Regions from separate parts of the Homo sapiens genome. Here region 2 is linked to region 1. The links are contacts of gene promoters, found by promoter capture Hi-C in blood cells and fetal thymus (Javierre and others, 2016). All regions are on one chromosome and are shown on one strand. Each heading gives the region's core, a stretch centred on a gene start or on the middle of the fragment in contact. The rest is flanking DNA. Distances are from core to core; before and after follow the strand shown.

Evidence for each region. The method cuts DNA at HindIII sites, captures the fragments that hold promoters and counts their contacts. A CHiCAGO score of 5 or more calls a contact.
Region 2: a fragment that was not itself captured here is called in contact with the fragment with the promoter of RBMX in region 1 in 7 of 17 cell types (fetal thymus, total B cells, naive CD8 T cells and 4 more); the score reaches 9.1 in fetal thymus.

Annotation. Positions count from the first base shown.
Region 1 is chrX:136,876,755-136,883,613 of GRCh38, reverse strand. RBMX (RNA binding motif protein X-linked) reads left to right here and starts at 2,889. Exons shown (of 9, transcript NM_002139.4): 1 at 2,889-3,017; 2 at 4,161-4,295; 3 at 4,491-4,597; 4 at 5,528-5,699. The coding sequence starts at 4,187. SNORD61 (small nucleolar RNA, C/D box 61) reads left to right here and starts at 4,343; the gene lies at 4,343-4,415. RefSeq lists enhancers at 2,766-3,364, 3,034-3,493, 3,504-3,563, 3,365-3,964. The HindIII fragment of the contact is 13,799 bases long and covers 1-6,859 here.
Region 2 is chrX:136,776,032-136,782,890 of GRCh38, reverse strand. It overlaps ARHGEF6 (Rac/Cdc42 guanine nucleotide exchange factor 6), which reads left to right and starts at 1,959. Exons shown (of 22, transcript NM_004840.3): 1 at 1,959-2,173; 2 at 3,394-3,477. The coding sequence starts at 2,009. RefSeq lists an enhancer at 3,304-3,523. The HindIII fragment of the contact is 384 bases long and covers 2,445-2,828 here.

The DNA of each region.
Region 1 (6,859 bases), core at 1,640-4,139:
TTGCAGTGACCCAAGATCGCACCAGTGCACTCTAGCCTGGGCAATGAGAGCGAACCTCTTTCTCAAAAAAACAAAAAAACAAACAAAAAAAAAAGGAGAAGAAGAAGAAGAAAAGTGAAAATTGTCCATAAATTCTACCACTCCAAGATAAACTGGTAACATTTTGGCATATTTCCTCCCAGTTATTTTGTCTCCATATGTATTTTTTTAATAGCTCATATTATGTGATCTTGGGCCTTCTTTTCCCACTGTACTCTCTTGTTTGGTGGTTTCATTCATTCTGATGGCTTTTATTACATCTCTGAGATGATAATTTAGCACAGATCTATGCTCTGAGCTTCAGATTTTTCTGCCCCTATATCCCAAACTTGCTCCTCTGAAACCATTTTGGTAAATGACTGTTACCATCTGTCCCACTAATACCAGATACTTGGAGTCATCCATAATGATTTTCTTTTTCCGCAATTCTTCCCCACCCCTTTCCCATCTGTCTTAGTCCATTCCTGCTACTATAACAAAATACCATAAACTGGCTGGCTTATAAACAACAGAAATTTATTTCTCACATTTTTGTAGGCTGGGAAGTCCAAGATAAAGACGCCAGCATATTCAGTGTCTGGTGAGGGCCCACCACCACCAGTTTTCTGGTTCATATAAGTGGCACCTCACTGTGTTCTCACATGGTGGACAGGGGCCTCTTTTATAAAAGTGTTAATCCCATTCATGAGGACCCTACCCTTTTGTGACCTAATCTTCTCCCCAAATCCCCGCCTCCTAATGCCATCACCTTGGGTATTAGGATTTCAACATATGAATTTGGGGGAGGACACAAACATTTAGACCATAGCACCATTAAACACGATACCTATCATATTCATCTAACAATTGTTCTTTCCTCCCCGTGTCCACTGCCGCCACCCTGATTCAAGCCACCATCCTCTCTTTCTGGTCTGCTCCCACAGCCCTATTAGTGTCCTTTTTCCCACACTTACCCCCTACAGTCATTTAATGGGCTCAAAGGTCCTGCCAATCTTGGCTCCCTCATTTCATGCCCCTCATATTCTTGTCACCTGGCCCTCTTTCTGTCCCTTGATATATGCCAAGCTCTTCCTCTCTACTTTGTGTTTACTATTCTCTTCTTTTCCTGAAGGTTTTTCCCTCAGCTGTTCCCATAGCTAGTTTCTTTTCTTCCTTCAGCTCTGATCTCCAAAGTCACCTCTTCACATAGACCTTCCCTGATGTTTTAATCAAATTTGTTCTCCCTAATATTGTCCATCAAAGCAACTAGTTTATTTCCTCCCTGGCATTAATCACAACATGCCATTCTTTTGTTAATTGTATTCAATTTCTTTAAGAAAAAAATTAAAAAATTTTTTGGTTTCCCCCCTCAACAAGTAGGATGGGCAGATGAAATATAGAATGCTCAGTTAAATTTGAATTTCCGATAAACAGCGAATTTTTAAAATATGAGATTTGGGACATACTATACTAAAAAAAGTATTCGTTATCTGAAATTTAAACTTAACTGGGCGTCCCTTTTTTTTTTTTTAGACGAAGTCTCGCTCTGTTGCCAGGCTGGAGTGCAGTGGTATGATCTTGGCTCACTGCAACCGCCGCCTCCTGGGTTCAAGCAATTCTCCTGCCTCAGCCTCCCGAGTAGCTGGGACTACAGGCACACGCCGCCACGCCCGGCTAATTTTTTTATTTTTTATTTTTATTTTAGTAGAGACGGGGTTTCACCATGTTGCCCAGGCTGGTCTCAAACCCCTGAGCTCAGGCAATCTGCCCGCCTCGGCCTCCCAAAGTGCTAGGATTACAGGCATGAGCCACCGCGCCCCGGCCGCGTCCCATATTTTTATTTAAAATTTTTTAACAGCTTCGCAGAATAAATTAGCGTCCCGCATTTTCTTTTTTATTTTGAGACGGAGTCTCGCTCTGTCGCCTGCCCAGGCTGGAGTGCGGTGGCGCAGTCTTGGCTCACTGCAACCTCCGCCTCCCGGATTCTCCTGCCTCAGCCTCCCGAGTAGCTGGGACTACAGGCGCGTGCCACCACGCCTGGGTAATTTTTTGTATTTTTAAAAAGAGACGGGGTTTCACCGTGTTAGCCAGGATGGTCTCCATCTCCTGACTTCGTGATCCACCGACCTTGGCCTCCCAAAGTGCTGGGATTACAGGCGTGAGCCACTGCACCCGGCCTGGTATTTTCATTTATTAAATCCGGCATCCTTACCCACAGGCCTGACTCTTGTCTTTTCCCTGGAGTTGTATTTTCCTGGCCTAGCCCAGAGCCCACCATTTACAAGGTGCTCAGTAATTGTTCTATATGAATGTACTATCTGCATGCTGTTTTGTACGTTTTTTACTCATCTGAAATTTACATGTATTTATCAGAAATTCCCACACTCACTAAAAACACTTGTTAAAGACAATTTTTGAAAATATATTATATTGCCAAAACTTCTTTGTTTTCCGTTTCTGCAAAATTGGTATAGTAGGAGTATCTACCCTCATCACATTTTGACAATTAGAAGAGTTAATGGAAAAGTAAAAGTAAAGTTTTGCACCGTGCCCGGCCCACTAGGACGCTCAATAAACTTCAGTTCTTTATTAAAGGAAGCCTGTGCACCATTTTAGCGTAAAGCAAAAAAAGCGCGTTTGTAAAGAACGGGTGGGGGTAGAGAAAACGGTTAGAAAGGTCTGTCGACCCAACACCGAGGGCCCGGGAAAAAGGGAGGAGAGAAGGGTGAATGACAGAGGAGCCAGCCAATGGGGAGACTGGGAACTACTTCCCCCCTCCCTTTGCGTTTCAAATTCTAAGCTCCGTTTCCATCCGGGTCCTTCAGCCTCGTTCCCGGGCAGTATAAAGTTTGCTGTCTCCTTTGTTCGCCCTCGTTGCGCAGTAGTGCTAGCGGCTTCGCGGTTCGGTCCTCGCACCCGGCAGCCGCCACTGGTGCTGAGCTGCTAGGAAGCCCCTATCGCCGAGCTCGTTGGAGCTTGAACCCATTGTCACCCCTCCGGTACGTGTCTCCTTTCCTCAGTCCGTTTTTCGTGACACTCTCCCCGTGTTAGGACTGGGGATTATATCTCCCTGGAGATGGGGGTGGCGGGCGCCATTTTAAGAACCCAAAGGTTCCGACCTATTTAAATAAAGCTGAGGGGGTCGAGGGAAAACAAATGAGGGGGCCCGTTTGGTTGTATGCTTCTCGAGAAAGTTTGGCTGCCATCTGCGGGAGTTGGTAGCGGAGGTCGGGGCTTTGTAGGCTGGAGCGGGGCGAGGAGCGACCGCACCACGGCGATACCTGCATTGGTATGGCGCTGGCGCTAATGATGGGCATGTGGACTTCCATGCGGGCTGCGGGCTTCGTATTCATTGGCGGCCCCGGAGAAGAAGCCCTCTGAATGTTCCCAGCCAATGTTGGTGGTAAAAGTTAGTCCCCTGACCAGTGTCGGTGGTTCTGGGTTGAATCCAAGTGTCGCCATTTTGTCTTTTACACGCGGTTTTTAATGACGAGTTTTAATTAGGTTCCGCTGCAGTCACGGAGTGTCGAGTGTTAGTGTGTGCGTCCGCGTTCCGTTACTTAATAGCAAACGATGTTGACGATTTGTTTTTATCTTTTTGGCCGGATAGTAGAATTTTCGGTAGGGCGGGGGCCGGTGAAGAAGAGGGGCGGCATAACTTGGCTTAAACTTCACATTTCTCCTTGGATTTAGTAGGGAATCCTAATGAGGAAAAGAGGAGTCGTTGGAAGAGGGCTTGGTGTTAAGGTCCTGTGTCTAGCCTGTGACCTTGGGAGTCTTTTAAAACCATCGTTAGGAAGGGTGTGATGAGTAATTGAATCTTTCAAAGGCAAGAGGACTGGAACTAAAAGTTGCTTTTTCAAATGTTAAGCAGCTGTTGCTTAAGAACAGCTAAGGGTGATCAAGGGTAGTGGTAAAAGTTAAGTTGGCCCTTTTAACCAGTTTTATGTAAATTGCAGTGTTACTAAACTACTTAGTTCAAATTGCTTCCTACTGTGGCTGAGGCTTAGCTCGTTATCGTTTTCTTTAGTTATTAAGGAACAATGGTTTTAGTGGAAAATATGAGAAATGTGCGAAAGTAAAAGTGTCCAATAAACTTGAGGAACTTTTTGCAGTGAGGTAATACTATTCCTTTTCAACAGACTCACCGGCCCAAAAAAAAAAAAACATGGTTGAAGCAGATCGCCCAGGAAAGCTCTTCATTGGTGGGCTTAATACGGAAACAAATGAGAAAGCTCTTGAAGCAGTATTTGGCAAATATGGACGAATAGTGGAAGGTGAGTTGTCTGGCAGTACAGGCTGGGCTATTATAATTAAAATATAAGCTATGATGAATTTGATTGCATTGATCGTCTGACATGATAATGTATTTTTGTCCTCTAAGAAGTTCTGAGCTTTCTGTTTACACATTTACTTTGGTTATTTCATTTGACCTAGGGTAACACTTTATTTTTCTGAAAACTACTTTTTAGTACTCTTGATGAAAGACCGTGAAACCAACAAATCAAGAGGATTTGCTTTTGTCACCTTTGAAAGCCCAGCAGACGCTAAGGATGCAGCCAGAGACATGAATGGAAAGGTGAGATTGTCTACACGATGGATGATAACCTGTTACTAGTGCATAAAATAACATGTAGTTGTCCAAGTCTGGTCTAGGACAGCTTTTGAGTTTTCGTTGTTTTTCAGTATATACCTGTCTGGGATCCACTCATCCTGTTTGTGATCCTGTTCCAAAGAGTATTCTGTAATTGCAGAACCAAATCTAGTAGTGAGTTATATCTTATGCTCGTAACATTCTCTCAGTTCAGAATAATTATGGCATTACATGGTACTTTTTTTTTTTTTTTTTTGATAGTCTCCCTCCGTTGCCTAGCCTGGAGTGCAATGGTGCAGTGCCCACTGCAGCCTGTCTCCCGAGTTCTAAGCGATTTTTCTGCCTCAGCCCCCCCCCCCCCCCCCAGTAGCTGGGATTACAGGCATGCGCGACCACGCCCGGCTAACTTTGTATTTTTAGTAGAGACAGGGTTTCACCATGTTGGCCAGGCTGGTCTCAAACTCCTGACTTCAGGTGATCCAGCTGCCTCCGCCTCCCAAAGTACTGGGATTACAGGTGTGAGACACTGCGAGCCACTGCGCCCAGCCAACATGATACATTTTATCTTGAGATCCATAAGCCATATTTTGATAACTTGGCTTTTGGTTTTGGCTACTAGTTTTGATAACAAGCTGATACCTACTTGGCCTTGTTTTAAATTTTACCATACAATAATGCAGTGGGTTCACCTTATGTTTCAATCCAGATCATCAGTATCGGTTTTAAGTATTAAGAATTTTAAGCGGAAAAGCCCCATTTATGTAAACTGACTATATTTGCAGTGTTTTTTCTTAGACTAATGAGCAACACTTACCCATAACTGCATTTTGAAGGACCAGTTAGTGTCTTAGTGCATAGTAGATGTGCAAATTATTTTTAAATCTTGATTTAATTTAATCGTATCTTTTTTTTTAGTCATTAGATGGAAAAGCCATCAAGGTGGAACAAGCCACCAAACCATCATTTGAAAGTGGTAGACGTGGACCGCCTCCACCTCCAAGAAGTAGAGGCCCTCCAAGAGGTCTTAGAGGTGGAAGAGGAGGAAGTGGAGGAACCAGGGGACCTCCCTCACGGGGAGGACACATGGGTAATAACTTGCGTGGACCTCGGGTTTGGTGTATAAGTTAGGGACTGCAAGCTCACACCAAGTGGATGCTTTGGTTAAGTCCTTGAGGAAAGGTGCCAACTTTTGAAATTGACAACACTTGTTCATCTACCAAAGTGATTGCCAATTGAAAGCATGGGAAGCATGTTTTAGATTATGGTGTTAAACCGTGGACAGTGTTACTTCTTGTCCAAGTAGTTCACTCTGTAGGAAAGGCATTTAAAAATTGATAGGCCAGGGTGTTGGACATGAAAATGAAATCATTTTTATTTTTTAAAGTTAGCTGGGCGTGGTGGCAGGTGCCTGTAATCCCAGCTACTACGGAGGCTGAGGCAGAAGAATCACTTGAACTTGGGAGGCAGAGGTTGCAGTGAGTTGAGATCGTGCCACTGTACTCCAGCCTGGGGGAACAGCGAGACTCCCTCTCAAAAAAAAAAAAAAAAAGTTTTTTAAGACTACCTTCAGTTCTTATTTCCCCAGTTTCTATGACTGCAGTGCATGCTCCATCAAGTACAAGTGAAACTAGACTACCCAAATCAATAATGGTTTTTTTTTGGGGGGGGGGGGGTAGAGTTTAGCACTTGTTGCCCAGGCTGAAGTGCAGTGGCACGATCTTGGCTCACCACAACCTCTGCCTTCCAGGTTCAGGCGATTGTCCTGCCTCAGCCTCCCAAGTAGCTGGGATTACGGGCATGCACCACCACACCTGGATTTTTGTATTTTTAGTAGAGACAGGATTTTACCGTGTTAGACTGGTCTTGAACTCCTGACCTCAGGTGATCCGCCCGCCTTGGCCTCCCAAAGTGCTGGGATTACAGGCGTGAGCCATTGTGCCCGGCCCAATAATGGTCATATTCTTGATGAAGCAAAGAAAACTTTTATAGTGGCCGAGCCTGGTGGCTCACACCTGCAATCCCAGCACTTTGGGAGGCTGAGGCAGGCGGATCACAAGGTCAGGAGTTCGAGACCAGCCTGGCCAGCATGGTGAAATCCTGTCTCTACTTAAAAAAAACCACCAAAAATTAGCTGGGTGTGGTGGCGCACACCTGTAATCCCAGCTACTCGGGAGGCTGAGGCAGGAGAATTGCTTGAACCCAGGAGGCAGAGGTTGCAGTGAGCCGAGATGAAGCCACTGCACTCCA
Region 2 (6,859 bases), core at 1,387-3,886, 100 kb after region 1:
AATGAGTATGAAAATGATGATGTTGAGTTAAGAAGCCAGAAAAAAGATAGTACCATACTGTGTACTTCCATTTATATAAGATTCTTGAAAATGCAAACTAATCTATAGACACTGAAAATAGATTGGTGGTTGCCTGGCATTTGGAGGCAAAGAGGAAAGAAAGAATTGAAAGGGCACGAGGACAATTTTGGGGGTGATGGAAAGGCTTATCTGGATTGCATTTGTGTGATTGTATCAAAGATGTATGTATATGTCAAAATTCATTAAATCATATATATGCAGTTCCTTATGTGTCAATTACAGCTTAATAAAATGGTAAAAATCATTAACAAGAAAAAATGTTTGTTTTAAGCCATTTAAACCAACCAACAAACAAAAAATCCTTGCTATAATCAGTTACTGTCTATATCAGGGACACCATCTGAATACATTCATTTATTCATTCAGCATTTTTTAACATCTACTGTGTATACCTGGCAGTCTGCTGGTAACACAGTGTTAAATAAAAAAAAACAAGACCCCGAGTTTAGGAAGTTTACATTCTTGTGGAGGAGTCAGATCATCAGATCAACAAGTGATAATAGTAAAGTGTGACAAGTGTCCTGACAGAGCAAGAAAGGGCAGCTTTGAAAATGTTTAGTAGGGTTATCTAAGCTGATTCTTTGGTAGTAGATGCCTGAAGCTGTGTTGAAAAGAATTCTGAGGCTTAGTAGGAAAGAGCTATACATGATCTGATGTCTCCCATGCACGAGGAGAGGTAATCATGGTAAGTGCCACACATTTGCCAACATAGGGTTATACTATTAAAGTTGGCCTTATCATAAATTTCCCAATAGTATGCCTATTTCAAGTGGTTCTGAAAATGTTTGAGAATGATGAAGATCTCTTGTTATAGACAGTTTTTTTTTCAGAGCAGTATTTTAAGTGCAAAGTGTTTTTTTGTTGTTGTTGTTGTTGGGAAAATAAGAATCTTCCATATTGTAGTGTAGACAGAGGACAAGTGCTCTTTTGTTCTCAAACATTCTATTTTTTCAAGTGTATTTTACCCACTTATGTGACTGAGTCTGAGCCTTTGCTAAGGGTACTGCAGCTGGATTATGTAGTGGAACCAGGTCCAGAAAAAGAATTGCTAAAGAATGCAAGTAAACAGGATGTCAGATGTTATCCTTAGCCTATTTCCCTAAACATAGCTTTTTGGCTGCAAAGTAAAATGCCATTCTTCTAGCTTCTGCTTATACACAGTGATGGCTGACAGCAGGCATAATCTTCGTTTGCTTGGCACGTTGTCACCATGCAACTCAACGTGTTTTGCAAGGAATGATCGTGACACACCATCTCTGGGAGATACTATGAGGACATCCGGCTATTTCTTGGAAGAATTTTCTGTCTACCTTCTTTGAGCCCTGTTGTGCCAGCACATCTCCCCATGAGGCTCAGATCTGTCTGACCTAAGAGCCAGTTGGCATCGTCCTCCTAACAGAAGCCAGATTTTCACTGGGGCTAGACTATTTATTGACAGTGTTTTCCCAGACTGGCCCATGAGTGTCTCATTTCCAAGGTCCCCTGAAGTGCTGGCTCACCTCTGTTTCCCAAAGCACTTGCTTGCTTGTCTCTCCTCCCTCCCCAGCATCCTTTTCACTTTCTTCCCTTATAACTTCTTGCACTCTGTGTGCGTGTGTGTGTATGCGTGTGTGCATGTGCGTTTCTTCTTTTTTTTTATCCTAACGAATTTGTTTTGCAGGTTTTGAAAAGGAAAAACCAGCGTTATCCAGGATTGTTAAATTAATTCTTATCTGTTTCCACATCTTGGACCGTGATCTCTGTGGTTTTAAAATCCCATATTTTGAGTGGGTTCCGCTGTTGTTTAAGAAAAGTTGCTTTAAACCTTTGCTCTGCAAGCACCCGAAGAGAACTCATAAAAAGGAAGACAACAGCAGATGCAATCGCGGATGTGGCTTAGTCCTTGCAGCTGCCCCAGAGTGCTGTTTGGAGTGTACCGTCCTCAGTAATGAATCCAGAAGAACAAATCGTGACATGGCTTATATCTTTGGGAGTTTTAGAGTCCCCTAAAAAGACCATCTGTGATCCGGAGGAGTTTTTAAAGTCCTCGCTGAAAAATGGGGTAGTTCTGTGCAAACTGATCAACAGACTCATGCCTGGCTCTGTGGAAAAGGTAAGGGAAATTTGCAGTCTCTTTGGGATTGCTTATCACCAGAGAGCAGCAATCATGTAACTCTTGAGATTTTTCTATTTCCCAGGCCATGGGAATCTCCTACTTTAATATTTTTCTAAGAGTTAGACATTCTTTCTTACTGTTTTTGTAGTTTGAAAATGTAAGAAAATGAAACGTTATTCTTTAGTAATTGGCCCCCAAATTGTAGTATAGGGAAAACCTGTGACACCACTGGCAACAAGGGACAAGGAGAACACTCATATCACAAGCTTGCTCTATCATGGAGATGCATGTTACATCTCCTTGTGTACCGAGGACATGTTTTGAACTTGGGGTACTTATGAGTCTGTGGAAAAATAGAATGATTTATAACAGATCTTGGTGGTGTTTATTGGCAGTTTGATTAAAATCAGTGTAGATTTCCTTTTAGAAAAATCCATTGAAGGAGAGACTATATAGCAACTAGGAAAAAAATAATTCAAAATGTCACATAAAGTTTGTAAAAGCAATAGAAACCAGATATATGTTTCGAATGCAATGTGCGTTCAAAGTGAAACTAACTTTACTCTCTTTAAAACAATTCAAGATTTTTAATAGCTGGAAATCCACGATCACGAGAATAGATAATTTCTAAAGTAGGCACTTTAAGTAAGCTTAAAGGTACAATTTTACATTTACTTTCTTAAGGTCATCATGGACTGTGAGCATAGCACTTTTGCCTTCATGAGCCAGTTTGTATTTTTATTGAGCAAATAAATTTACTTATAATTTCTTAAACTTGAGAAAGAGTGATTAAATAGTGATAAAATGTAAAGAAGTGTGGTCAAATGTAGAGGGGAAATAGAATTTTATTAAATTATCAGGGGGAAGGAGGAGAGAGAGGTACCAGGGATTGCTTCCTTTCTTGAAAGCAAGAACTAAGCTCAAAAAACTGTCTTGGTCTCCCTAATTTGCCATCAGCACACTGGAACAGAAGGCATGAGAGAAAGCTTGTAAGTAGACATGGCTTGCCACTAAAGGTTTGGTGACATTTGAAACAAAGATCGACCGTTTAGATTTTTGCATCACTTCCTTCAGTGGTTATTTCTCTTCCTGGATTGACAGCAGTGTTGCCCCACACCTTAAGAGGCCTGCTTTCTCTAGTTATCAGCAAATGATGAGTATACTTTGCTTGGCATGGGATGACAATCTCCAAGTGACATTTCACTGTGTTCCTCTAGTTTTGTCTGGATCCCCAAACTGAAGCTGACTGCATCAACAACATCAATGACTTCCTGAAAGGATGTGCAACCCTCCAAGTGGAAGTAAGCCTACCCCGGGTGCCTTCCCTGTTGTCATCGTTTTTTTGCTCTGCTAATCAAGATTGGTAGTAAGAGTACTTGTTTATTTTCACTGTCATTGGCCACTGAGTTAAACAGAGGTAGCAGACTGGTGGTCCCCAGTAATGGATTGCTAGTCTGTCTTTTCCAGAAACCAGTTCCAAGCAAAACAAAACAAAATAAAAACTCACACAATAATGCCTTTTATATACAGCATCCAAGCCCTGTAAACAGGCTTCCAGTGACAGAGCTTGTGTGGGTGTGTTCTCCTACTAAGGGGAACCAAAAGTGGGCCACTGACTGTTGGAGAGGGTCACTGTAATCCTCCCAAGTTGAGAAAAGAGGAAAGGCCATTGTTACTCCTTCCCATTAACACTTTAGAACAGAGGCCTTGAAAAGCTGAGAGAACTTGGCTTTGAGGTAGAAATTGTATAGTAAATTTTGTGGCATTATTTTATATTATATGGATCCCTACAGTGTGTATAGGAAGTGTTACTGAAAGGGAGGTGATACTTCCACACGAGCATCAAGTTGCTTAACTTCTCTGTGCTTCAGTATTTTTATCTGTAAAACGGACATGCTAATAGCCAACTCATGGGATTGCTTTAAGAATCAAATAAGGCCGGGCATGATGGCTCATGCCTTTAATCCTAGGCCAAGGCAGAAGGATTGCTATAGCCCAGGAGTTCGAGACCAGCCTGGACAGTATGGTGAAATGGTGACTCTACAAAAAATACAAAAATTAGGCAGGCGTGGTGGCTTGTGCCTGTAGTCCCAGCTACTCGGGAGGCTGAGGTGGGAGGATCGCTTGAACCCAAGAGGTGGTGGAGGTTGCAGTGAGCTGTGATTGCACCACTGCACTCCAGCCTGAATGACAGAAAGAGACCTTGTCTCGAAAAAAAAAAAAAGAATCAAATAAGATACTGCATAATAATTTAGGGCCAAGAGCTCCAACCTTGTAAGATCTATGAGATAATTTATGTAGAGTCCTTAGCATAGGGCCTGGGACAGAAGAAGTACTCTATATTAATAGACTAGTATTAGTCATATTATCCGTGGACAAATAGTTGTGGTTTAAGCATGGACTGTGGTGCTAAACTTTTTGGGTTCAAATCTCAGTTCTCTCTTACTAGCAGCTTTGTGACCTTGGGCATGTTACTTAACTATGACTCTAGGCCTCAGTCTTCCTACCTACAAAATGGGAATAATAGTGGCACCGAATTCATAGGACTCGTGTGACCTTTTTAAAAAATATTATTTCAATAGTTTGGGAGGAACAGGTAGGTGGTGTTTGGTTACATGGATAAGTTATTCAGTGGTGATTTCTGAGATTTTGGTGCATCCATCACTTGAGCAGTGTACACTGTACCCAATGTAGAGTCTTTTATCCCTCACCCTACTCCCACCCTTCCCCCTGAGTCCCCAGAGCCCATTACATCATTCCTATGCCTTTGCATCCTCATAGCTTAGCTCCCCCTTATAAGTGAGAACATATGATGTTTGGTTTTCCATTCCTGAGTTACTTCCCTTAGAATAATGGTCTCCACCTCCACCCAGGTTGTCGTGAATGCCATTATTTTGTTCCTTCTTATGGCTGAGTAGTATTCCATGGTGTGTGTGTGTGTGTGTGTGTGTGTATGTATACATATTATATATATGTATATTACATTTTCTTTATCCACTCTTTGGCTGATGGGCATTTAGGCTGGGTCCATAACTTTGCAATTGCAAATTGTGCTACTATAAATATGTGTGTGCAAGTGTCCTTTTCATATAGTGACTTCTTTTCCTCTGGGTAGATACTCAGTAGTAGGATTACTGGATCAAATGGTAGTTCTACTTTTACTTCTTTAAGGAATCTCCATACTTAAGGTTTTCCATAGTGGTTGTACTAGTTTACATTCCCACCAGCAGTGTAGAAGTGTTTCCTTTTCACCACATTCATGCCAACATCTAATATTTTTTGTTTTTTTTTTAATTGTGGCCATTTCTGCAGGAGTGAGGTGATATCTCATTGTGGTTTGATTTGCATTTCCAGTGCTTAGTGATGTTGAGCATTTTTTCATATGTTTCTTGGCCATTTGTATATGTTCTTTGAGAATTGTCTATTCATGTCCTTAGCCCACTTTTTGATGGGATTATTTGTTTTTTGTTTTTGTTTTGTTTTGTTTTTTGAGACTGAGTCTCACTCTGTTGCCCAAGCTGGAATGCAGTGGTGTGATCTTGGCTCACTGCAACCTCTACCTCCCTGGTTCCAGCGATTCTCCTGCCTCAGCCTCCTGAGTAGCTGGGAATACAGGCGCCCGCCACCATGCCTGGCTAATTTTTGTGTTGTTAGTAGAGACAGGGTTTCACTATGTTGGCCAGGCTGGTCTCAAACTCCTGACCTCAGGTGATCCGCCCGCCTGGGTCTCCCAAAGTGCTGGGATTACAGGCGTGAGCCACCGCACCCGGCCTATTTGTTTATTTTTATTTCTACTTTATTTATTTATTTATTTATTTATTTATTTATTTATTTATCTATTTATTTATTTTTGCTGATTTGTTTGAGTTCCTTGTCGATTCTGGATATTAGACCTTTGTCAGATGCATAGTTTGGGAATATTTTCTCCCACATTGTGAGTTGTCTGTTTACTCTGCTGATTATTTATTTTGCTGTGCAGAAATTTTTTAGTTTAATTAGGTCCCATCTATTTATCTTTGTTTTTGTTGCCTTTGTTTTTGAGTTCTTGGTCATGAACTCTTTGCCAAAGCCAATACCTAGAAGAGTTTTTCCAATGTTGTCTTCTAGAATTTTTATGATTTCAGGTCTTAGATTTAAGTCCTTGGTCCATCTTGAGTTGATTTTTGTAGAGAGGTGAGAGATGAGAGATGCGGTGAGAGATGAGGATCCAGGTTCATTCTCCTACATGTGGCTTGCCAAATATCCCAGCACCATTTGTTGAATAGGGTGTCCTTTCCCCAGTTTATGTTTTTGTTTGCTTTGTCAAAGACCAGTTGGCTGTAAGTATTGGGCTTTATTTCTGGGTTCTCTATTCTGTGTCATTGGTTTATGTGCCTATTTTTATACCACTACCATGCTATTTTGGTAACTACAGGCTTGTAGTATAGTTTGAAGTCGGGTAATGTGATGCCTCTAGATTTGTTCTTTTTGTTTAATCTTGCTTTGGCTATGTGTGTTCTTTTTGGGTTTCATATGAATTTTAGGATTGTTTTTTCTAGTTCTGTCAAGAATTATTATGGTATTTTGATGGGAATTGCGTTGAATTTGTAGATTGTTTTTAGCAGTATGGTCTTTTTCACAATATTGATTCTACCCATCCATGAGCATGGGATGTGTTTCCATTTGTTTGTGTCATCTATGATT